Linked DNA regions of Homo sapiens: all the other regions are linked to region 4. The links are contacts of gene promoters, found by promoter capture Hi-C in blood cells and fetal thymus (Javierre and others, 2016). All regions are on one chromosome and are shown on one strand. Each heading gives the region's core, a stretch centred on a gene start or on the middle of the fragment in contact. The rest is flanking DNA. Distances are from core to core; before and after follow the strand shown.

Region 1 (2,903 bases), core at 148-2,647, 260 kb after region 4:
TTGTTCACTGGTGTATCCCCAGCTCCTGGCCCACAGAAGGTGCTCAAGAAATATGTGTCGAATGAATGAGAGTCTGGGCTTCTCCCTCTCCCTGCATCACTCCGCAACAGCCGGGCCGGCTCTGGCGCGACTTTCTCAGCCCCTGCCCACCTTCAGCTACGCCGGCGGCCGCCACCTGGGTCTCTGACCACCACGCCCTATCCCTGCAGCCCCTCCTCCTCGGATGGCTCCACCTCCCTTGCTGGGCCCCGCCCCAGGCTCGCAGTCCTCCCGCCCGAGAGCACACGCACCTGGGCACGTTGATATCCCGGTGCGCCCGGGGCGCACGGGACGCCTTGCTGAAGGCCACTTTGGCGCCGACGCCCACGGCCAGGGCGAAGCTGATGACCCCGCACACGACGTAGGCTGTGCTGCCCCCGGGGCCCTCGCCCCCGCGGCCCCCGGCACCCCCAGTCCGGCCCCCTTCCAACCACCCGGCCTGGCCGGGCCCTGGCCCCCCGCCCGCACCCCCAGCGCCCCCGGCGCCCCCAGCTAGCGGCGGCGGCGTGGTGGCCCAGCGCGGCGTGTCGTAGTTGGAGCAGGAGGCCTGCGCCAGGCGCATGTGACGGTGCTCACAGCAGAAGCGGTAGTGGCAGGTGCCACAGCAGAAGCGGTAGGAGCCGGTGCTGCAGTTGAAGGTGGCGTCGTACTGGCCCATGACATCGTAGTAGCCGTGGCAGAGCTCGGCGGGAGGGGGCGCCCGGGCCGCCGCGCCCGCCCCGCCCGCGGGGCCGGTCCTGGTGCCGTTGGCGCCTGGGCTCGCCGCGCCCCCGCCGCCCGTCAGCGCCCCGGTCAGGCGCCGCAGGTGCGCCAGCAGGGCGGGCAGCGGGCCCGCGGGCTCGGCGCTCGTGGCGTTGGACGGGCGCGCCCTGGCCTGGCCGGCGCTAGAGGCCAGGAGTACGAGGAGCAGGAGGGCCGGCATGGGGCTTGCAGGGGGTCGCACTGGGCCGCCAGGCTGCGGGGAGAACGAGAGCAGAGGTTGGAGCGCTGGGCGGGAGAGAAACGGTCAGAGGGTGAGAAACGTAGAGATGGGTGGGCAGAGAGGCTGGGGAGGGCGGGCGGGGGGCGGCAGAGTGTGGGGAGCAACAGGCGCCAGGAGGCAGGAAGGGCGGAGGGAGCTGAGCTGCGTGGGCCCAAGTTGGCCGCCCCACGCGCGGTGGGCGACGATGGGAGAGTAATGGAAACGCGCCCGGGCACGGCTGGGGGAGAGAAATGAGCATGGGCGGACAGAACCGGGATCAGGCGAGAGATGAATGCGGGAGAAGCGATTGGGAGGGTCGACAGACACCAGAGGGGTGTGCAGACATTAGGACGAGGAGCGAGGCGAGGCGCGATGTAAGGAGAAGAAACGGGGGCGGCGAAGAGGAGAGGGCAGGGGAGGCAGCTGGAGGGAGGCGCGCGAAGGGGAGGGGAGGGTGGCGAGGGGAGTGGGGACCGCGGAGGGAGGGAAGGAAGCGAGACAGATGAGGGGTGGGTGGGAAAGGAGGAGTCAGGGAGACGGGGAAGGAGGGAGAAAAGAAGGGGAGGAGGAGGAGGGGGAGGAGAGGGAGGGAGGAGGAGAGAGAGAAGTTGAGAATTTGAGTTTATAGACCAGGCAAGTGGGAAGAGGCAGTGCACGGTTTTTCAACACTGACATTCGGGGACCGATGCTGCTTTGTGGTGAGCGCCTGTCCTGAGCGCTGTAGGATGTTTAGCAGCGCCCTCTCCATGCCAGCAGCACCACATTCCCCCGAGTTGTGACAATGTAAGATGTTTCCAGGCATTGCCAAATGTTCCCCTGGTGGGAGGAGGCCACAGCTGCCCCCGTGGAGAACCACTGACTTACACCCCTATGGTCCTCAGTGCCCCGAAATGCCAATTTCTCTCCCTTAGTTAGATCTGATAATCAAGGGATCTTAGGTGCCCTCCCTCCCTCCCTCTCTCTCCCTCTCTCTCTCTCTCTCCCTGGCATGCACACGCACACACACACCACTGTTACGGCGTCGGGTTTGAAGGGTCTCTGTCCACAGCTGAACCACAACCACAGCAGGGTGGTTCCCCTGCCGACTGGACCTCCTGCCAGCTGCCTGACACTGACAGGCTCTTATCTAAGCTCCCTGTGCCCCAAGTCCCCCATCTGTAAAATGGGGATAAGGATGGTTATCTCTGAGTGGTCAGGAGGATGAACTGAGGGAATATGTGTAAAGAGCTTAGAACAGTGCCTGGCATATTGCAGGTGAAATATGAAAGTGTTTGCTGCTGCTGCTATTTCAGAAGGGAGATACAGGCTGAGAAAGGGTCGTCCGGGTGCGGCGGCTCACGCCTGTAAATCCCAGCACTCTGGGAGGCCAAGGTGGGCAAATTGCTCAAGCAGGAGACCAGCCAGCCTCGCCAACACAGCAAAACCGTGTCTTTACAAAAAAAAAAAAAAAAAAAATTAGCCCGGCGTGGTCGTGCGCACCTATAGTCCCAGGTACTCAGGACGCTGAGGTGGGAGGATAACTTGAGTCCCAGAGATCAAGGCTGCTGGGAGCTGTGATTTCACCACCGCACTCCAGCCTGAGTTGACAGAGTGAGACCCTGTCTCAAAAGAGAGAGAAAAGGTGATGCAGAAGAGAGGTGGGAGTTGGTGGTGGTGGTGGTGGGCACGTCTTCCAGCTGTTTCTATGGCAACAGTCCAGCCAAGTCCCAGACACGCCCACCCCCGTGGACCTAGAGGGATGATAGAGGTGGGAAGGATGCCTGGCCTCGGGTTCCGGGAGAAGGAAACGTCTGAGCTCTACCTGCAGGAGGAACCCCCCAGGGGTCTGGGGTGACTGCCCACGGAGTCTTACATTTCCTCTCTGCAAGAACCTGATCTGAACAGCCCCTGCCCTGAGCTAGCT
Region 2 (3,041 bases), core at 385-2,884, 340 kb after region 4:
AAACTGAGATTCAAGCAGTGAAGTAACTTGGCCGTGGTCACCCCGCTAGGAAGCCATGCAGCTGGGGTTTAAACTCGGACAGCCTGCCTTGAGCACAAGCCCTTTACTTAACCGCTTCTCCAATCCTGCAAACAAAGGACAAGGTGGGGAAGGGATGCGCCTGAAAGACCCTGCCCTGCAGGAACAAGTGGAAATCTGTAGATCTGTGTGGTTCAATACGGTAGCTAAGAGCACCGGGCATGGTGGCTCACGCCTGAAATTCCAGCACTTTGGGAGGCTGAGGCAGGCAGATCACCTGAGGTCGGGGGTTCAAGACTAGCCTGAACAACATAGTGAAACCCCATCTCTACTAAAAATACAAAAAAATTAGCTGGGCATGGTGGCACATGCCTGTCATCCCAGCTACTCAGGAAGTGGACACAGGAGAATCACTTGAACCCAGGAGGCGGAGATTGCAGCGAGCCAAGATCGCGCCACTGCACTCCAGCCTGGGCAACAGGAGTGAAACTCCGTCTCAAAAAAAAAAAAAAAAAAAAAGTTAAATGAATTAACACTTTGAAAATGAAACATTTGCCGGGCGCAGTGGCCACGCCTGTAATCCCAGCACTTTGGGAGGCCGAAGCGGGCGGATCACGAGGTCAGGAGATCGCGACCGTCCTGGCTAACACAGTGAAACCCCATCTCTACTAAAAATACAAAAAATTAGCAGGACATGGTGGCGAGCGCCTGTAGTCCCAGCTTCTCGGGAGGCTGAGGCAGGAGAATGGCATGAACCTGGGAGGCAAAGCTGGCAGTGAGGCGAGATCGTGCCACTGCACTCTAACCTGGGCGACAGAGTGAGACTCCGTCTCAAAAAAAAAAATAAAATAAAATAAAAGAAAATGAAACATTTAGTTTCTCATTCACACTGGCCGCATTTCAAGGGCTTGGTAGCCACATGTGGCCAGTGGCTACTGTATTGGCACGGTAGATCACAGCGCATTCCCATCACTGCAGATGTGAGATTTCATTGCCTAGACTCTATGTGCAAACAACTTGGGTTCAAGTCTTAGCCCTGCAACTTGCAAACTATGTCTGTGTGACCTTGGGCGAGTCACCTGCCCTCTTGCCCTAATTTCCCCCTTCTGTAAAATGGGGATAAAATTGGCACTCACTTGGAAGACAGCCCCAGAAGAGGGTCAGGCTCCTCCTGCTACTCAGGCCCAAAATTTAAGGGGGTGCCCAAAACGCCAAAATCAAGATACATAATATCATAATACAGTATTTTTTAAAATGAAAATTAATGCCAAAAAAAAAAAAACCCATGATGAACTCGGTATCAAAAATGTAACTGAAGGCCGGGCGCGATGGCTCATGCCTGTAATCCCAGCACTTTGGGAGGCCCAGGCGGGCGGATCACGAGGTCAGGAGATCGAGACCATCCTGGCCAACACGGTGAAACCCCGTCTCTACTAAAAATACAAAAAATTAGCCTGGTGTGGTGGCGGGCGCCTGTAGTCCCAGCTACTCGGGAGGCTGAGGCAGGAGAATGGTGTGAACCCGGGAGGCGGAGCTTGCAGTGAGCCGAGATCACGCCACTGCACTCCAGCCTGGGCGACAGAGCGAGACTCCATCTCAAAAAAAAAAAAAAAGTCACTGAAGACAGGATCCTATCCGCCTCGCTGGGCTCCCCCTAATCCTGGCCCTGTTGGATCCCGTCTTTGGTTAAAATGTTAACTTTGGTTAACTGTGGATCTTTTGGATTAATTTTGATTGTTTAAAAATATTGCATAAAAACGCTTGAGCCCAGGAGTTCGAGGTTACAGTGAGCTATGATCTTGCCACCGCACTCCAGCTTGGGCGACACAGCCAGACTTTATCTTAAAAAATAAAAAAATCCATAAAAGTATTTATTTTGATTACTAACATTACCCTTCGGAGCCCTCTTTGGTCTCCCTGCCTCCCCTGGCTCCGCACATCTCCCAGTCCCCCGCTGGCTCAGAATCCTCCCGTATGCTGCACGCTTCTGAGCACTCCCGCCCCCTCCCGCACCCCAGCACCCCACGCATCCCTCCCTCACCTCACCCTCCTGCACCCGCTCCCGCAACCCGCGTGCCCCTCGGCATCCCCGAGTCCGGAGCATCCCCGCATCCTCCCGCAGTGGAGGACGCCAGGTGGCGCCTGGAGCCATCGGAGGACGTAGGGAGGAGGGGCCCTAGGGCCGGGTGAAGTCTGCCGGTGACCCATGACGTCTCGAGGCTCTGTGCCTTTCCATTGGTCGGCTCCTCGAGGGGCGGGGCGGGACGCGTGGTGGGCGGAGCCGGTTGACCTCAGACCGTCCGTCTGTCTTTCCTCCTCCTCCAGGTTCCCCGAGGAAACCGTGGCCCGAGCGCCGGCCACCGCGGCCCGCTGCGACCAGGACAGCGCCCCCAACCCCGTCCCCAGGTCCCTCCGCCTCTCCGGGACCCCCAGGCCCAGCGCTGACCTCTGACTCCAGTCGAGAGCTCACTCCCCACTCAGCCTTGACGTCCGAGGCGACCTCTGACGCTCCGGACACTTCACCACCCACCCCAGACCCGGCCTCCCGGACGAACCCCGACCTCATCTTGACAAGCCCTGACTTTGCTTTGTCCACCCCTGACTCCAGTGTGGTTCCCGCGTTGACCCCGGAGCCCTCACCCACGCCCTTACCCACCTTGCCCAAAGAGCTGACCTCTGACCCTTCTACACCGTCGGAGGTGACCAGCCTTTCCCCTACCTCAGAGCAGGTCCCAGAATCTGACACAACCCCAGATTTGGACACAACTCCATACTCCAGTACAGTCTCAGAATATTCTAGATCCCCAGACCCCTCCCCAAGCCCTCACCCCACTACTACCCCTGATCCCACCATGGCCCCTGACCCCATCACAACCCTTAACCCTACTGTGACCCCTCACTTCCCTACCACCCCTCACCCCACCACGACCCCTCACCCCACCACCATCACTCACTCCACCATGATTCCTGACCCCACCACAACCCCTCAACCCTTCACCACCATCACTCACTCCACCATGATT
Region 3 (2,897 bases), core at 379-2,878, 470 kb after region 4:
AGTAGGTGGGACTACAGGCGCCCGCCACCATGCCTGTCTAATTTTTTGTATTTTTAGTAGAGACAGGGTTTCACTGTGTTAGCCAGGATGGTCTCGATCTCCTGACCTCGTGATCCGCCCCCCTCTGCCTCCCAAAGTGTTGGGATTACAGGCGTGAGCCACTGCGCCCGGCCCACAAAAATTTCTTTACCATAGTTAGCTTTAGTTTGTGCATTTTTTTTTCCATCAACTATTATTATTACTATTTGAGACGGAGTCTCGCTGTGTCGCCCAGGCTGGAGCGTGGTGCGATCTCGGCTCACTGCAACCTCCACCTCCCCGGTTTAAGCGATTCTCCTGCCTCAGCCTCCTGAGTAGCTGGGATTACAGGTGTGCACCACCACGCCCGGCTAAATATTTTTTTAAACTGCTGATTTCATCCTATTCTATTGAATTCTCCACCCATGAACCTGTAGTTTGGAAAAGACCAATCTAGGGCAGATGGCTCCCCCTGGAATTTTTGGACCAGGCTGCAGTTAATCTGTAAAGTGGGGAGGGGAGGATCATGGTCACAGCTTTGCAGGCGGTGCAGACATTTAGATTCTCCCTCCATCGGGTTAAGACCTTGCTCTTATAAGGGCTGGCCACAGTCCAGAGCTTGGATGCTTCTGGTGAACAGGAGAGGCAGGTGGAGCTGAGCCTGAAGCTTAATAAACATCTGCTTATTCATTCATTTTTCTTGCCTATTTTGTGCCAGGCACTGTGCTAGGCCTCATTTGCTCTTCCGACCTGTTTTTTTGGGAGGAAGAACAAATCTTCCGTTCATACTCCCCAGAGTGGGAAAGAGCCTCCCAGAGGCTGCCATCATACCCCACCATCTGACCTCAAATAATACCAGCAGCGCTCCTCTCTTCAGCCCTGACGATGGCCAGGTGCTGGGCTGAGCTTCTGTGTGTCGCATCACTGCATCCTCACAATAAATTTAGAAGGGCTTGTAATTTCCCCATTTTGCAGGTGAGTTAACAGGCTGGGGAGGAGCAGGAACAGTCAGGACTGGAATCTAGCTTTGCTCCAAAGCCAGCTCTTAATTACCAACATGGGGATGGGGGTGGCGTGTTCCTGGCCCTCATTTTCCGGGAGAGGGGTAACTCCCCCGATTTTGGCCCCCACATCCCTGAGAACCTTGGGGTCTGGCTGTAGGAGGTAGGGGAGCTCTGAGGGGTCCGCGCTGGCTAGTTCCTGAGAGAGCGTTAAAAGTAGATTCTCCTTTCGCTCCAACTTTCTCGGTGTCTCAAACACTCTCCTGCCTTCTGGGCCCATTGGGCACACCGCCACCCAATCCGGGGACCCCCGGAGACTCGCCAGCTCTCCAGGATGGGAATTTCGTGATGTTCCCTGCCTGAGCTTCGGGGAGGGCGGGGGAGTGCTGTAAGGGGCTATCGCGCAAGTGCAGACCCTCTGCTTCTGCCGCAAACGGCGGGCCTCACCTGGACCCGGGGACTCTTCAACGAGGGGCGCTAGCCTGGCCCGACTGGGCGAGTCCCCGCGTCCCTGCCCGTTCCGTCGCTCAGTTCCACGACACGCTCCCCTGCCGCCCCGCCTGTTCGCGGGTGGGTGGGCGCTTCCCTCGGCTCCCCGTGACACTTTGCAGACGCTCCCCGGCGCCGGGCATGGGCGCCGCCGCCGTCGGTCCCCGAGCCGGATTCCGCGAGCGGGTGGGTGAGCGCGGGGGGCCTCGGCCCCTCGGACCCCGGGCACCCGCGGGCGGGGGATGGTGGCCGCGTTTGCACCCCCGCCCTAGTGCATGTTCCCGCTGGAATCGTTCCACGACCGCTCCCCCTCCCACCCGCGGGACAAAGGGCGGGGGCGGGGGGGGCGCACCCCCACGCGTGACCTTTCCCCGTACTGCGCACGCGCCCAGCCCCCACCACCGGGGGACGGTCCGCCCGCCCACGCGAGTGCGGGGGAGGGGTGTGGGGGCCCCGAAGGTAGAGGAGGCAGCGCGCACGGGCTGGACCTCCTCCTACCCTGGGAAGTTGGGGCAGTTTCCCCCTGCACCTGCCTCTTCCTTAGGCCTGGCAGTGGCCCGCGATGAGAGAGGGTCCTTCCCCTTCAGGCTAGGTGTCCCTGGTCAGGCGACCCCTTGGGGCACCCAGCAATTTAGGGCTTCAGCTTCCTTTTCCTTCGATACCCAGGAGCCCACGTCCCCAGCTCACTTCTCCCCCAGGACCTAGGCGGCTGGGCCCCCTGCCCCTGACTCCAGGAGCCCAGGAGTTTGAAGCCCAGGCGCGTTTTGCCTCAGTCCTGGGGTCCAGGCTCCCTCCTCCCTCAGACCAGGGGTCCAGGCCAGAAGGTCCCTCCTGTCTCACTTCACCTCCCCCAGGATGGACCCTCCAGTCCATCTGCGTCTCTCCATTTGTGGCTGCCGTTTCTGTCCAGTGCCCCTGAGGCCCTCGGCTGCTGGGGTCCGTAGGAAGCCGCGCCATGAATGACCGGAGCAGTCGGAGGCGGACAAGTGAGGAAGCTGGGTCCCCTTCCCTACCCTGGGTCCCAGTGCGGTCGGCTCCAGGCTGCCGTGGTTGGGGGGTGGCCTGAGAGGCCCGGGGAATTCTCTGGGGTAACCCGGGGCCTCTCCTCTCCAGTGAAGGACGATGAGACCTTCGAGATCTCCATTCCCTTCGATGAGGCACCCCACCTAGACCCACAGATCTTTTACAGTCTGAGCCCCTCTCGGAGAAACTTCGAGGGTGAGCTGAGGGGGTGTGGAGGGACTGGAGTCAGCTGGGAAGCCAAGCCCTGAGTCCCAGGGTGTGACCTGGTCCCCCCACCCTCGCTGTGTCCCTAGAGCCTCCGGAGGCTGCGTCCTCCGCCCTGGCTCTGATGAACAGCGTCAAGACCCAGCTGCACATGGCTCTGGA
Region 4 (2,906 bases), core at 93-2,592:
CCCGGGTCTTGCTCACCTGGGCCGTGGCTGATGCGACTGGAGTCGGGAGGCGTGTCGGGCGATGGAGGCCCCGGGGTTGGGGGCTCCGGGAACATGGTGGCGGGGTCCTGGAGTCTTTTCTGCAGAGACACTCAAGCACCCTAGTCCCCCATTCCCACCCCAGACGTCCTTTGAGCCCCACGCACAACAAAGAACTCCAACTCCCATGAGGCCTTTGCGCGAACAGCCGCGCAGAAACCGGACAGCCACCGCGAGTCATGCTGGGAGTTGTAGTATCAGCCTCCCCGCACTTGAGAGGGGGTGTCCAGGACCTAGTTCCATCCTAAAGGGATACCCTCTTCCTCCACGGCCCCACAGGCATCCCGCTGACTTCTGCCTCGTCCTCGCCCCTCCGCAGGGTCTGAACCGGAAGCGGGCGAAGGCAGACGTGGGAACCAGCAGACCGCGTTGCCCAGAGCAACAGCCGGGCTCCTCTCAAGCGGGGTGAGAGCAAAGCTGGTTGCCCGGGCAACGGGTTGTTGCCAGGACAACGGGCGGGGCTGACGCACAGACGCGGAGTCCCGGCGGGGCAGGCTCGCTCCGGGGCCCACCGGTGCCTGGGAACCCCCCAATAGCCCGACTGGGATCCTGAGGTCCCGCGAGGTGGGGAGCGGGCAGCCTGTGGTCCGAGCGCCCACAGCCGACTGCTCCCTCCGCACCTGGTCCTGGGAGCTGAGACGCAGGTTCCCTCTTCCCTCTCCCCAATTTTGCTGGAGGGCGGGTCGGGGGCTGCCCGGTGCCTGTGCTGAGCCCCCTCATCCTTCTTGGCCTGTTGGTCTCTCCACGCATCCGTGCTGCTCTCGTGACCGCCTCGGTCTCCACGCTGCCTCTTGACCCCACATAGGCGTCTTCCCTGTGTCTGCCTCCCCAACCCGCCTGTCTCTCTTCCCTATCGCCTGGCCTCTGTCTCCAGGGTCTCTCCCTCTCCCCTCCGCCTGCGCCCCACTCCCCGCCCTCGGCTCTTTGTCTTCTCCATACCTGTCTCGCGTCCCCAGATCCCTGTCTCTCCGCTTCAGGCTGCTGCCCTCCCTCTGGTTGTCTCCCCAGTGCCCCAGCCCCCACTCGCACACCCCTTTCCTCTAGGGATGCGGATGCGGATGGGCTGAGGGCGGGGGTCCCAGCAGCTCCTACCTGCTCGGCGGCTGGACGGGACACTCCCGGGAGACGCCGAGGCGCCAGCCCCGCCCGGACCCCACCCCCTGCACGTGGGCGGTGGCGCTGTCCCGGGTGCTGATCGCGGAGCTCTCCGGGGCGGGGGAGCCGCGGAGCGGAGCAGGATCCCGTGCGCGCGTGTGTGCCCGTGTGCGTGTGCGCGCGTGTGTGGTGTGTATTGTGTGTGCCCGTATTTGGTCTCGGGTAGGCGGAAAGCCCTGCCCCGCCCCTCCTCCCGCCTCCACCCGGGAACCTCGATGACGCCCACAGATGTTTATCCTGGTGCTTTAGCATTTTCTGCCTTCTGGTCCAGTCGTTGGCCGTCCAGACCACTCCACTCCTCCCGCCCCAACACACACGACACACACCCTGTATAGCCCAAAGAACGGCATGCCAGGATACTCAGTCCTAGGACCTAGGAGACCCCAGACCCCCATTGGAGACCCAGACTCTGCAGGGTTCAGCATCAAAGTCCCCAGCTATCAGCCCCCAGACATCGCCCTCTAAGTTCCCCTAACACCAGTCCCAGGAGGCGGCCAGTGCGGTGGCTCATACCTGTAACCTCAGCACTTTGGGAGGCCGAAGCAGGAGGAATGCTTGAGCCCAGGAGCTGGAGACCAGCCTGGGCAACATAGCAAAATCCCGTCTCTACAAAAATGAGCCAGCGTGGTGGTGCGCACTTGTGATGGCAGCTACTCTAGAGGCTGAGGTGGGAAGATCACCTGGGCCCAGGAGGTCAAGGCTGCAGTGAGCCACTGCACTCCAGTCTGGGCAACAGAGCAAGACCATGTCTCAAAAACAAAAACAAAAACAGAACAAAACAACAACAACAACAACAGAGAAGAGTAAAAGAAAAGCTCAGAAGGCAAGTCCCCAAGCACCTAGCTCCAGCGAGCCCTGTCCATACTGCCCAGACCCTGGACACAGACGTCTGGACACTGCCTTCTCTGAGAGACTCAACCACCCAAACCTACATTTTTTCATGTGCAAATGTGTGGGTCCCTCTAGTCCCCTCCTGGACGTTCGCCTCGATCCCTAGATACCAGGAACCCATCCCTACTCCCAATCCAATATTATTTCCAGACCCAGAAATCCATGGGACAACTGTCTCTGGGGAGAACAGTGATTTAATAAATTATGGGATAGAAGGAAAAATACATGTGGATGGTGGGGTGCAGAGAGACCTTGGGCACAGGGACTCCCTCCGACCCCAGATTATAGAAGACTGATTTGGTTTCTGAAGTAAAATCAAGGCAGGATCCTTCCTGCCTTTGGTCCTCAAGTAGCCAGAACTCCAGACCCAAATTCCTTCCTGCCTCAGAATCCAGGCCCCAGCCTGTTTCTTTCTGCATCCTGGAAAGACCTAGGGAATCCAAGCTATCATCCCTCTCCTCCTTCAGGGAACCAGGAATCCAGATCCCCAGCTCCCATAGGACTCATCTGAAGCCCACCAGACCACTCTCTCCTGGGGAAACCAGAGTTTGGGATACCAGCCCCCTCCTCCCACAGCACCCAGGAGTCTGGGAGCCCAGCCCTCTGCTCTTCCAGGAATCTGGGCTCAAGTGGGTGTCCAGAGCTTGAGGATGCCTGGGCTGCCGACCCAGCCCCCTCGTCACTTAGACCTCCAACTTGTGGGCCTGGATGGCGGCCACGTTCTCGTAGATGAGGTTTTCGACATCCTCATACGGGACTTCCTTCTCGGCTGGGGCCTGGGC

The links. The method cuts DNA at HindIII sites, captures the fragments that hold promoters and counts their contacts. A CHiCAGO score of 5 or more calls a contact.
Region 1: a contact is called between the fragment with the promoter of SHISA7 here and the fragment with the promoter of SYT5 in region 4, in 11 of 17 cell types (M1 macrophages, activated CD4 T cells, M2 macrophages and 8 more). The highest score is 11.7, in M1 macrophages.
Region 2: a fragment that was not itself captured here is called in contact with the fragment with the promoter of SYT5 in region 4 in 6 of 17 cell types (M1 macrophages, total CD8 T cells, naive CD4 T cells and 3 more); the score reaches 6.9 in M1 macrophages.
Region 3: a contact is called between the fragment with the promoter of CCDC106 here and the fragment with the promoter of SYT5 in region 4, in 1 of 17 cell types (naive CD4 T cells). The highest score is 5.7, in naive CD4 T cells.

Annotation. Positions count from the first base shown.
Region 1 is chr19:55,441,903-55,444,805 of GRCh38, forward strand. It overlaps SHISA7 (shisa family member 7), which reads right to left and starts at 1,398. Exons shown (of 4, transcript NM_001145176.2): 1 at 291-1,398. The coding sequence starts at 961. RefSeq lists an enhancer at 90-718 and a silencer at 212-301. The HindIII fragment of the contact is 48,275 bases long and covers 1-2,903 here.
Region 2 is chr19:55,514,881-55,517,921 of GRCh38, forward strand. SSC5D (scavenger receptor cysteine rich family member with 5 domains) reads left to right here. Exons shown (of 14, transcript NM_001144950.2): 14 at 2,344-3,041. Among named protein-coding and RNA genes, the nearest start is that of SBK2, 21 kb to the right of the region's middle. RefSeq lists an enhancer at 2,026-2,527 and silencers at 2,047-2,206, 2,337-2,516. The HindIII fragment of the contact is 6,972 bases long and covers 1-3,041 here.
Region 3 is chr19:55,646,584-55,649,480 of GRCh38, forward strand. CCDC106 (coiled-coil domain containing 106) reads left to right here and starts at 1,629. Exons shown (of 5, transcript NM_001370470.1): 1 at 1,629-2,494; 2 at 2,622-2,726; 3 at 2,825-2,897. The coding sequence starts at 2,464. RefSeq lists silencers at 1,705-1,824, 1,855-1,984. The HindIII fragment of the contact is 17,145 bases long and covers 684-2,897 here.
Region 4 is chr19:55,178,947-55,181,852 of GRCh38, forward strand. SYT5 (synaptotagmin 5) reads right to left here and starts at 1,343. Exons shown (of 9, transcript NM_003180.3): 1 at 1,171-1,343; 2 at 17-140. The coding sequence starts at 95. It overlaps PTPRH (protein tyrosine phosphatase receptor type H), which reads right to left. Exons shown (of 20, transcript NM_002842.5): 20 at 2,301-2,906. The coding sequence ends at 2,808. RefSeq lists an enhancer at 809-888 and silencers at 876-1,288, 1,169-1,358. The HindIII fragment of the contact is 13,685 bases long and covers 1-2,906 here.